4 separate regions of the Homo sapiens genome follow, and regions 1, 3 and 4 are each linked to region 2. The links are contacts of gene promoters, found by promoter capture Hi-C in blood cells and fetal thymus (Javierre and others, 2016). All regions are on one chromosome and are shown on one strand. Each heading gives the region's core, a stretch centred on a gene start or on the middle of the fragment in contact. The rest is flanking DNA. Distances are from core to core; before and after follow the strand shown.

Evidence for each region. Contacts are between HindIII fragments. The CHiCAGO score rates a contact against its expected background, and 5 or more counts as called.
Region 1: the fragment with the promoter of HCN3 here is called in contact with the fragment with the promoter of UBE2Q1-AS1 in region 2 in 4 of 17 cell types (naive CD8 T cells, neutrophils, total CD4 T cells and 1 more); the score reaches 7.3 in naive CD8 T cells.
Region 3: a contact is called between a fragment that was not itself captured here and the fragment with the promoter of UBE2Q1-AS1 in region 2, in 1 of 17 cell types (neutrophils). The highest score is 6.0, in neutrophils.
Region 4: a fragment that was not itself captured here is called in contact with the fragment with the promoter of UBE2Q1-AS1 in region 2 in 1 of 17 cell types (endothelial precursors); the score reaches 5.7 in endothelial precursors.

What each region holds. Positions count from the first base shown.
Region 1 is chr1:155,276,107-155,278,828 of GRCh38, forward strand. HCN3 (hyperpolarization activated cyclic nucleotide gated potassium channel 3) reads left to right here and starts at 1,357. Exons shown (of 8, transcript NM_020897.3): 1 at 1,357-1,762. The coding sequence starts at 1,485. The HindIII fragment of the contact is 9,883 bases long and covers 475-2,722 here.
Region 2 is chr1:154,552,348-154,555,276 of GRCh38, forward strand. UBE2Q1-AS1 (UBE2Q1 antisense RNA 1) reads left to right here and starts at 1,262. Exons shown (of 2, transcript NR_046668.1): 1 at 1,262-1,325; 2 at 2,303-2,681. UBE2Q1 (ubiquitin conjugating enzyme E2 Q1) reads right to left here. Exons shown (of 13, transcript NM_017582.7): 4 at 2,388-2,438; 5 at 685-825; 6 at 389-473; 7 at 57-117. The HindIII fragment of the contact is 6,880 bases long and covers 1-2,929 here.
Region 3 is chr1:155,088,566-155,091,386 of GRCh38, forward strand. No RefSeq gene overlaps it. Among named protein-coding and RNA genes, the nearest start is that of EFNA3, 11 kb to the left of the region's middle. The HindIII fragment of the contact is 7,010 bases long and covers 1-2,821 here.
Region 4 is chr1:155,109,937-155,112,798 of GRCh38, forward strand. No RefSeq gene overlaps it. Among named protein-coding and RNA genes, the nearest start is that of EFNA1, 17 kb to the right of the region's middle. The HindIII fragment of the contact is 1,697 bases long and covers 679-2,375 here.

The sequences.
Region 1 (2,722 bases), core at 107-2,606, 720 kb after region 2:
ACCATGCTCATGCCTGTAATCCTAGCACTTTGGGAAGCCAAGGCAGGAAGATCACTTGAGCTCTGAGTTCAAAACCAGCCTGGGCAACATAGTGTGACCTCATCTCTAAAATAATAATAATAATGGTAGCCCTGTGACATGAGTTGCTCAAAACAGTGGTGCCCTGGCTGCTGTAAAAAAGCTCTAGAATAGACCCTACCTGAGGAAAGGAGAGTTGGAAATGTGTTCCTAGGTTTCCTAGAGAAAGCAAGATCTGAACCAACTGTTCGAAAGTGAATTGGAGGAGAATACCAGGCAGAGAAAATATTTGCAAAAGCATAGAGACAAGGCAGCACAAAGTCTTTCAGCATGATTGGGGCTGTGGCTTTCAAGAGAGGGACTGTCAGAAGAGAGACTGTTGAAACTAGGTCCAAATTTTTTGGGCCTGGTACACCATGCTAAGCAGCTTAAATGTACCCCTGTAGAAGATGGGAAAGCTTGATGGGCTTCAAGCAAGTGACACAGCCATAGTTGGATTTTAGGAAGGTAACTGGCAGGGAATGGAAGAAGAATTGGCCTGGAAGAGGTTGAAGACTCTTTTAGAGGTTTCCGAAGTAATTTAAGTGAAAAAATGCTGAGGGCTTGAAATGAGGCAGTGGTAATAAGAATTGGAGATGAAGGGGAGAATTTGAGATATTTAGGAATTTGTAGCACTTCGCATAGCACTGCAATTTACCTGTCTGTCGTTGGGCACAGATGAGCAGTGGCTTTATGGCTAGGCCTTTGTTTTTGTTTTGTTTTGTGTTGTTTTCCATTACTACATGGAGATGCTAAGACTAGGACTTTTGTATTCATTTTTGTTTCCTCAGCATCCACTCAATGACAGGCAGAGTTGCACTTGGTGAAGGCTGACAGAATGAATTAGGAAATTAAATACTAGGGGAAGCAGTTCGGAGGAGACCAAAAGACAAGAATATGCCTAGGACAGTGTTGAGAGAAGACGGGAGCAGGACAGAAGTCCCTGGGCGAGAGTGGAGAAGAATCCCAAAAGCCATTTCCACTTCTTCCATTGGTCCCCAATCCCTCTCCCTCCCAAGTCCTTCAAGCTACAAACCCGCGTCCGATTTTCCCGCCACTGCAGGGGGCTCCTCCTCCCTGGTTCTCAGTGGATGAAAGGCCAACGCTAGGCCACGCCCTCTCCCTGGCTCAGGCTGCGCTCCCCGCCTTCTTTGCTAAGCCACGCCCCTCTCGGAGTTCCTCCAGGATCCCGGCGTCCCAGCCCCGCCCGGTCTTGGCGCGGCCCTCGCCAGGGGGCGCCGCGCAGCCCGCCCGCCGCCCGCCAGTCTAGCACACACCCCCTCCGCCCCGCGCGCCGGCGATTCCGAGCCTACGACGCCTCCGCTAGAGCCCGCGGGGCTGCGCCGACTCCTGCTCTGGAGGGGTTGCGGGTACCTGATGGCCACAGAGGGCTCTAGGAGGCCGAGCGTGTAAGCGGGGTGGGCGCCATGGAGGCAGAGCAGCGGCCGGCGGCGGGGGCCAGCGAAGGGGCGACCCCTGGACTGGAGGCGGTGCCTCCCGTTGCTCCCCCGCCTGCGACCGCGGCCTCAGGTCCGATCCCCAAATCTGGGCCTGAGCCTAAGAGGAGGCACCTTGGGACGCTGCTCCAGCCTACGGTCAACAAGTTCTCCCTTCGGGTGTTCGGCAGCCACAAAGCAGTGGAAATCGAGCAGGAGCGGGTGAAGTCAGCGGGGGCCTGGATCATCCACCCCTACAGCGACTTCCGGTATTGGGGGCTTGGCGGGGAGGGCAGGGTACATCAATCCCACCCTCGCGGGCAGCGACACCGGGACCCGGCCCGCCCCACCCTCCACGGTCACTTCATTTCCAGCCCGGGGTCCCTTGGTGGGGCGGGAGAGTCACTTGCACCAGTCTAGCCTGGGAATTCCTGGGCGGGTATCCCCTGCCGGAGGTCCTCCGTGCCTGGACAGGCTGGGGGCACCAGAAGGGGCAAGCAGACATCAGGGGATCTCCAGAGACCTGGATTTCCTCTTTCAGGAACCCGGGACCCCATCCGGACCAAAGGAACTACCAGAGTTTGGGACCCCTGCCTCCTCCAGTCCTGCTTGCTGGAGATCTAGGAAATTATATTCTAAGTATCGGGGCCAGTCTGAGGGAGAAGCCGAGCTCCGCCATCTCCCATCCCCACACCCGCTCCTTAGCACCTGCCTAGTTCAGCATGACAGACTACCAGGAAAAATAGGGACGCTGAAGGGGGCGGGGGGTCCAGACCTCAGCTCTGGTCGCTGTCCCTAGTGCTGAAGGCGGGGGCGGCGGGGCGGGGCCGAGACTCAGAGTGACTGAGGCGGCAAAGCAGGGGCAGGACCACCACCCAGGTGACTCCCAGAGAAGGAACAGAGGGTGGGGGTGGGGCCATTTCACAGTCTCCGTCAGGGTGTACCTCTACATCAAGGTCGCTAGGGGAAGACAGCAGCCCTGTCCTTGGGGGAAATGAAGGACAGCTCTTGGATGAGGCAGGGATGTGTGCAAAGCACCTAACCTGGGGAACTAAAGAAGCAGAGAGGAAGAGGTGTGAATCTGGAGCCTCGAAATACAGTTGTAGACCCAGACATTATCTTGAATCCACATATATACACACTCCCTCTATGTCTCTCTTCCTCCCATTGTTCCTTTCACTCCTGTCTTTGCTGCCTCGTTCCCACCCAGCCAGTGCGCCTTTTCTAGT
Region 2 (2,929 bases), core at 12-2,511:
TAGCCCCACTCACACTCCTCCTCAACTTCCTCTCCAATCCCAGAGTCCCCACTCACTTGAGGAGTTTGACATTCCAATCATACAGACTGTCATTCACGAGTTCGACTGCATAGTTTCCTGGAAGGAGGGAAAAAACAGGTGTTAGTAGAATGGTCCAGGTGGTGAGTGGTCTCTAATGCAGACCCCTTTCCCAGACTGAGAGAAAAAGATCAACAGCTCTAGGTTCACCACAGATGGACATGCAACCAAGCCACTGGCTTGAGGAGCTCCATTCTTGGCCTGAAAAGTTCATAAGCACTCCTGGACCCCAGAACCTCTTGGGCCCCTTGCCACCATACCCTTCTTTATGGGTGACTCTTGTGCAGGCCCCTCTCTGGGGCAAACTCACCGCCTTTGAAACTCTGTGATCGGTATATATCCCTGAGCTCCTTCATCAGCCGGTCAGTGGCCTGCACCGAGCCAGACACTGCACCCTGTGAGGGACGGATGACAGGAACATTCCTTGGTCGTGTGGTTTATAAACACACGTTAGACCTTAGGGGCAGTCTGGCAGCTTGCCCAGGATTTAAGAAAGGATTAGGCACAAAAAAGGAGTCTGCTCTCCATACTGAGATGCGATGGCCTACTACTTCCCAGCCATTTCCCACCAACCCCTTCACCAGCCTCTCTCTAGAAGGCACGTACATTTAAGTAATCTTGCCTCTGGTTCTTTTTAATTTTCTCTAGGATGGCCAAGTTTTCTTTTCCAATGCCATCATCTTCAGATTTCTTGCCCTCAGCTGGCTCTTCCTCTTTCATTTCATAGTGATCTAAGTCTTCTGTGTCCTGGAGGAGGTGTGGGGTGGGAGTGAAAAGAAAAGGAAAAAAACCGACACAGGTTAGAGAATGACCATCACCTTCCCAGTCCCATTTGGCGAAGAGCCAAAAGTTAAAGTGAAGCAGTCCATCTAGCAGTCTTATAAACGCAACGTGCTTTCCATTTTTAGAACAATTTCCAGCCCCATTCCCTCCACAGTCTAAATCTTCAGCTCTCAAGCTACAGCAAGGACTTCGGAAACGAGCAGAGCTGCAGCTGAGATCGAGGCAGGGACTTAGCCCTCTTGTTTCCTGGACTGACCCTGCTCCAACTGTTCCTAAAACTCCCTTGGCAGCAGAAACTCTTCCCTAATTCCTAGCAGAAATGACTTGGGCCTGACCCTGTGACTCAAAGCTCATGTTTCACCAGGTGACTATTGCACCCGGGAGTTCTCAGGGCCCCAAGCCTAAAGGAGAAACCTGAATCATTACATCTCCTCTCCTCGCTACAAATGCAAGGCATGAATCAGGTATGCAGAGGCACGCACTGCCAGATGGAAATGAGAAAGGATGTCCAGAGAGATATATGGAAGAGGTCAAGAACAGAATTAGCCCCTTATTCATCCTGCTCTAAGTGAGCAAGCAACTAGCTCACTGAGCATAGGGAAGGAGGAGAACCTATGTAGGGTTGAGCCCCTCAGCCAGATGTTGGGGGTGTGGCCCAGAGGGCTGTCCACTATCTGGGAGGAGTAAATTTCATGTCGTCAGCCCTTTGCCAGTCTCAAGAACCTTACACGGTTATAGAACCTGGGATATTAATCTAATGCTAGGAAATAAAAGTAATCAGAGTGATCTCCCCATTTCTGGCAGGACATACCTAATTACCACACCAGCAGGTAATGTCTACTGAGTGTTTATTACATGCCAGGTTCTGTCCTAGGTGCCGCAGATACTAGCTCATTTCATTCTTACCACCATCACTCATTATTCTATCATTATCCATTTTATAGATGCGGAAGCTGAGTCTAGTGAGGTCAATTATCATGCCCAAAGTCACAGCTCTTAGCAGAGCTAAGATTCAGTCAAGTTCTGTCTAGCTCTAAAGCTCAAATTCCTAACCATGATTTTATATTCTGTATGTTTTTAGAGAATATATCAGATAGATTGTTTAGCATTTATCATGTATCATCTGAAGCATTTTATATATAACACCTCATTTAATCTCAAGACAACCATATGCAGTAGGTATTATAATCCTACTTTATAGATAAGAAAACTGTAGCTTAGTGAGATTACATAAAATTCCTCAATTAGGATAGCTAGGATGCAAACACAGGTTTGTTGGACTCCAAAGCCATTTGAAATTAACTTACCCAGTATTTGGTTTGAACCGCGCTGCACCTGTCTTCAGTGGTTGGATATGGGTGCCCTGTCTCCTCTACTACACTGGCTATTCCTCCAGGTCAGTAAATCTGTCTTTATTCCTTTGATATTTTTCTCTCTCCAGTTTTAGACTGGAGTTCTGGATATGGGTACCAATGTTGCTGACTGCAAGAGCTTCCAGCCAATGCCACCTCAGGGGGCAAGCCTACCTCAGGCATCTCCTCATCTTCATCTTCTGAAGACACGTCTTCCTGTGTGCACTGCAGCAAGGAAGGGAAAGATGGAGATCAGAGCCCCAGTGGCTTGCTAGAATGCAGCCTCCAACCTACTCCCCTGAGCCCCCAGGTCTGGAAGTTGTGCGCCTGCCTGTAATGCTGCCAGTCTCTCCACCAGCCAGATCTGAGTGGAAGCAACAGCCCAGGGAATGGCTTTGCTACCAGCCCATTATTTTTCGCCTATCACTGCCAAAGAATAAAAGAAAAGCAAAATGGCTGTCTCTGTCACCCACCTCCTAAATCCTAGTTTAATTCTCCTAAGAACCCCTCCTTTACTTGATCTTCTTTAGACTGATATTGCATTCTTGGTTCTCACCAAGGGGCCTGGGTCCCCAGTGGCCACCAACTGTTATTGCTAAGATAATGGTAAAAATTCCCCCGCTCCCTTTCAACATCTGGGATGCTGCCCATGAGAATGAATTTTGATATCAGAGATGAAGCTACCAGTGCCCCATTTAGCAAAAGAAGATTCCCAT
Region 3 (2,821 bases), core at 136-2,635, 540 kb after region 2:
CATCCCACCCAGGCTCTCTAATTGGCACTGTGTGAGCAGGCCAGATCCTGTGTGCCCCTGTGGCTCTTGCCGGCTGCTTTGTGAGAATGAGCCCTTGGTGGTAAGGACTGTGTTTTCTGCTCCTCTCTACCCATAAAACATGGAAAATGGAATCTGAGCTAGACTCTGCAGAGTGGGTGGGTTTCCCAATAGCGGAACAGGGAAGAGTGTGGGGTGGGAGAGCAGGTGGGGAAAGAACTGGGGGCAGCCACTAGACCAGTCTGAGACTCCCTACAGACTGATAAGACAGAAAAGGTGGGCCTATCCATCCAATCGTCCATGCATTCAATCCACATTTATCGAGCACCTGCCGAGTGCCAGGCTCTATCCTGGGTATTGGAGACACAAGATATAGTCTCTACCCCAAAATAAGCTCATACTTTAGTATGTGTTGATGTATGAGCAGAAATTGGTAACACACACATACATAACTGACAACATAACCAGCTCTTTCGTGGGTAAATGCCTGGGAGCTGTGGGAATGCCAAGAAAAAGCACACACTTGCCTAGGGACAGAGGAAAGAGGCTTCAGACAGGAGGAGATACACAGAGCGGGGTCGGGTACTGTTGGGGAGAATCTCGAGGACCCATAGTAGTGGGCCTGGGCTGCAGGCTTGCTTCAATTCCCCGGGCCAGGCAGGATAGGGGCTGGCCAGATGGGATGGGGGAGGGCCTTGCAGATTCAAAAATTCTGGAATAGTAAGACTGAAAGGGCCAAGCACTTTGGGCAGTAACTAGAATAAGCCAGCTTCCATTCACTGAGCACCTCCTATGTGCCGAGTGCTGCGCCTTTGTAAGCCTCACTATTCCAATAACACAGATGAGGATCTAAGACTTAGGGCCACACAGCCTGGCTAATGATAGGGCTGGCATTCAAAGTGGGTCTAACAGGAGGCTGAGGTGGGAGGACCGCTTGACCTCTGGAGTTTAATGCCAGCCCAGGTAATATAGCAAGACCCCATCTTTTATTTTTATTTTTATTTTTTTTGAGACAGAATCTCACTCAGTCGCCCAGGCTGGGGTGCAGTGGCACCATCTCAGCTCACTGCAACCCCCGCCTCCTGGGTTCAAGTGATTCTCCTGCCTCAGCCTCCTGAGTAGCTGGGATTACAGGTGCATGCCACCACGCCTGTCTAATTTTTGTATTTTCAGTAGAGATGGGGTTTTGCCATGTTGGCCAGGCTGTTCTTGAACTCCCGACCTCAGGTGATCTGCCCGCCTCAGCCTCCCAAAGTGCTGGGATTACAGGCGTGAGCCAGTGTGCCCAGCCGACCCCATCTTTAAAAAAACAAAAACAAAAACAAAACAAATGGCCAGGCACAGTAGCTCAGGCCTCTAATCCCAGCATTTTGGGAGGCTGAGGTAGGAGGATCACTTGAGCCCAGGAGTTTGAGACCGGCCTGGGCAACATAGGAAGACTCCATCTCTACAAAAAATAAAAAAAATATCCAGGTGTGGTGACAAACCTTTAGTCCCAGCTACTGGGAAGACTGAGGTGAGAGGATCGCTTGAGCCCAGGAGTTCAAGACCAGCCAGGGCAAAATAGTGAGACCCTATTTCTACAAAAAAAAAAAAAAAAAAAAAAAGCTAGGCGTGGTGGCATGCACCTGTAGTTTTAGCTACTCAGGAGGCTGAGACGGGAGAATTGCTTGAGCCCAGGAGAGCAAGGCTGCAATGTGCTATGATCACACCACTGTACTCCAGCCTGGGCGACAGAGCAAGAGCAAGACCCTGACTCTTTTTTTTGAGGTGGAGTTTTGCTCTTGTTGCCCAGACTGGAGTGCAATGGTGTGATCTCATCTCACCGCAACCTCCACCTCCTGAGTTCAAGTGATTCTCCTGCCTCAGCCTCCCGAGTAGCTGGGATTACAGGCATGTGCCACCACACCTGGCTAATTTTGTATTTTTAGTAGAGACAGGGTTTCTCCATGTTGGTCAAGCTGGTCTCGAACTCCCAACCTCAGGTGATCCGCCCACCTCAGCCTCCCAAAGTGCTGGGATTACAGGCATGAGCCACCGCGCCCGGCTGACCCTGTCTTTAAAATAAATAAATAAGTAAATTGGCAGGCACTGTGGCTCACACTTGTAATCCCAGCACTTGAGAGGCCAAGGCAGGCAGATCATTTGAGGTCAGGAGTTTGAGACCATCCTGGACAACATGGCGAAACCCAGTATCTACTAAAAATACAAAAATTAGCCAGGCATGTGGTGCATGTCTGTAATCCCAACTACTCAGGAGGCTGAGGCAGGAGAATCGCTTGAACCTGGTAGGCGGAGGTTCCAGTGGGTCGAGATCGAGCCACTGCACTCCATCCTGGGCGACAGAACGAGACTCTGTCTCTCAAAAATAAATATCTAAATAAATAATAAATAAATGAAATCAGTTTTAAAAGCTGCGGAGCCCTGCTGAGGATTTTCCCGTCCAGCGAGGCTTTCAATCCCAGAGCATGTAAGGAAGACTGGGGAGAGAGGTCTGCACTTAGATGGCCAGACACCAATGACCCTGAGCCTGTCTGGTACAGGGCCCTACTTTGTGACACCAAGGTCTGCAGAGCCCAGGGCGTCCTGGCCAAGGCAGTGGTAAGATGTCACCAGGCACAGTGGTATGGCCTGAGGGCAGAGCAGCCTCACCCTGGGCAGGGTCTTCTTCACCCTTGTGTTGTCTCATGTTGGCCCCCTCCAGCACAGGCACAAAGAGGGCTCCCACCTGACACGCTGGCATTCCCAGAGGCTGTCACAGGTTAATGCCCCCAACACAGGTAGAGATCGCACACATCCCTCC
Region 4 (2,862 bases), core at 277-2,776, 560 kb after region 2:
GTAGGCCAGGCACGGTGGCTCACGCCTGTAATCACAGCACTTTGGGAGGCCGAGGCGGGTGGATCACCTGAGGTCAGTAGTTCGAGACCAGCCTGGCCAACATTGTGAAACCCCATCTCTACTAAAAATAAAAAATTAGCCAGGTGTGGTGGTGCGCACCTGTTGTCCCAGCTACTCAGGAGGCTGAGGCAGGAGAATTGCTTGAACGCAGGAGGCAGAGATTGCAGTGAGCCGAGATCGTGCCACTGCACTCCAGCCTGGGTGACAGAGCAAGACTCTGTCTCAAAAAAAAAAAACCTTAAGTGTAATGGCTTTTACCAAGTTGGGTCCATGTCAATATGGGTTTTTAAATTTTCTGCAAAGTAATTCCCTTAAAAAAAGAAGAAGAAGTTTAATTCAATAAACATTAACCAAGATCCCACACTGGGCACAGAACTGCAGGGAAGACAACAGCCAAGACACAGTTCTGGTCCTCAAAGGACTTGTGATGGGGAAGGGACACATATTCGGCTAAATTTCAGAAGAGAAAGAACAAAGTAAACATTGTAAAAGACAAAATGTCACAGGGGCCCAGAAGAGAGAGTGATTAATTCGCTCTGTGGGGAGATGGTACGGAGCCAGGCTGGGAAGGATGAGTAGGATTTGACAGCTGGTAAAGGCGTCCCAGGCAGAGGGAAAAGCTTAGGCAAAGGTAGAGGCCACGATGTGCGGGGGTCTAATCGTCACCATCTAATTTACCAAACTGCATGTCGCTCTATTCTAATTATGATGTGTTGTCAAATATTATCACACCTGCTTGCTTCAGAAGTAAAAACCACATACCTGTATTATTAGCCCTGAAGGCCTTTAACTAATGATTTATAATAGAGTAGCTTTAAAAAAGATGCTAATTTCCCAGACTAAACCACCCTCACAGGACCAGAGGCCCCTTACACACATTCCAACACGGGGAACACACACCATGACAACAACAGACCCCTTTTCTCGCTCCTGGTTCTTGCAGGCTCTTCTGCATCTCTGCCTCTAAACCTGGTCGTTAACACGTCCTCCAGGCCACACATGCACATGTATTACCAACGCGCCATCCACCGTGCCAGACAGGAAACACATTTGGAGGATTTTAAACAATTTTAAAATGTGCCCTCAAATTTTACAACTTGCTTGACTTGCCTGAGGGAGGAACCAAGCCCCTTATATAAATGTCACCGCAAACTGGCTTACTCCACATCCCACCCAGCTTGGGAACCTGGGGTTTCTGGGGGGTTGTTTATTTTTATTTTATTTTTCTTATTTTTTTATTTTTTAATATTTCGTCTGTGTCTTCTGTGGGCACTGGCTTTTTAAATCATGTTTATTTTATATGCTCTCCCAGTAGCCAGTGGAGAGGAGACACTTTCCTCATTCCACAGACCACCAGCCACACAGCCAGCCTAGGGCAAAAGCATTTAGCAGGCTCTGGGATGACCTATGAAGAAACATCTCAAGGAGAGGGTTTCCTGGCGGTGAATCAGACAGTTCCTAGACCCAGGTGCTGTGGGGCAGAGGAAAGGCCCCTCTTCTGGCAGCAGGGGTAGGATGGACCCCTCTAGACCTGGGAGGAGTGAAACCTCAGGGCCCCAGCCCCTGGCCTGGTGCCTTATCCACAGGATGCCCTCAGGATACCACACCAGCCTCCTCATCCATTGTCCCTTTCACTGGTTCACAAACGGGGGTCTCCAGTTAACTTCCGCTGTTGATGTTTGTTTGTTGTATTTTTCTCTTCTTTTTTTTTTTTCCTCTCTGTCACCCAGGCTGGAGTGCAGTGGTGCAATCACAGCTCACTGCAACCTCTGCCTCTGGGGTTCGAGCAATTCTTGTGCCTCAGCTTCCCAGTAACTGGGATTACAGGCGCCCGCCACCACACCCAGCTAATTTTCTGTATTTTTAGTAGAGACGGGGTTTCACCATTTTGGCCAGGCTAGTCTCAAACTCCTGAGTTCAGGTGACCCGCCCACCTCAGCCTCCCAAAGTGCTGGGATTACAGGCATGAGCCACCGCGCCTGGCCTTTTTTTTTCTTTTCTTTTTTTAAAGGTTTGTCAGGAGAAAAATGGTGATGAGGCAGAGGGAAGGAAGATCTTGGGTGTGTTCTTGACCTGTGGAAGGGTGTGGGGAGGAGCCAGATGAATGGATTTGATGAGGGCCGTGGGGCCTGGGGGGCCTGGCTCTGCACATTTAGTGACTAAGTACAGCCCAGAGTTGGAGACAGGACTCGCCCCTAACCTGTGCAAGGGGCCCAGCCCCACCTAGTGTGGTAAATTGACGGCTGTGTCCTCAGCTCCCGCCCCCTTATCCTTGACTGCCCTCACCCTAGGCAGGTGGTCCTTTGCTTGGCCCAAGCTTTCTGCAGAAGGACTCGCCTGGGCTGCTGTCCCAGGAGGGGCCATGGCAGGCCATCTATGGGGAGTGTGATGGCTGTGTGCACACTGGAGTCGGAAATTGCCACAGCCAGGAGGAACACCTCACAGGAGCGTGGCTGCCTGCGGGAGGGGCTGAGGAAGCTCCCAAATGGCTCTGTGGCAAAGCCCTCATCCTCAGAGGACTAGAAATCCCGCTGCAGGCCGGGCGGGGTGGCTCATGCCTGTAATCCCAGCACTTTGGGAGGCCAAGGCGGGTGGATCACGAGGTCAGGGGATCGAGACCATCCTGGCTAACATGGTGAAACCCCGTCTCTACTAAAAATACAAAAAATTAGCCGGGCGTGGTGGGGGGCGCCTGTAATCCCAGCTACTCGGGCGGCTGAGGCAGGAGAATGGCCTGAATCTTGGAGGCGGAGCTTGCAGTGAGCTGAGATGGCACCACTGCACTCAAGCCTGGGCAACAGA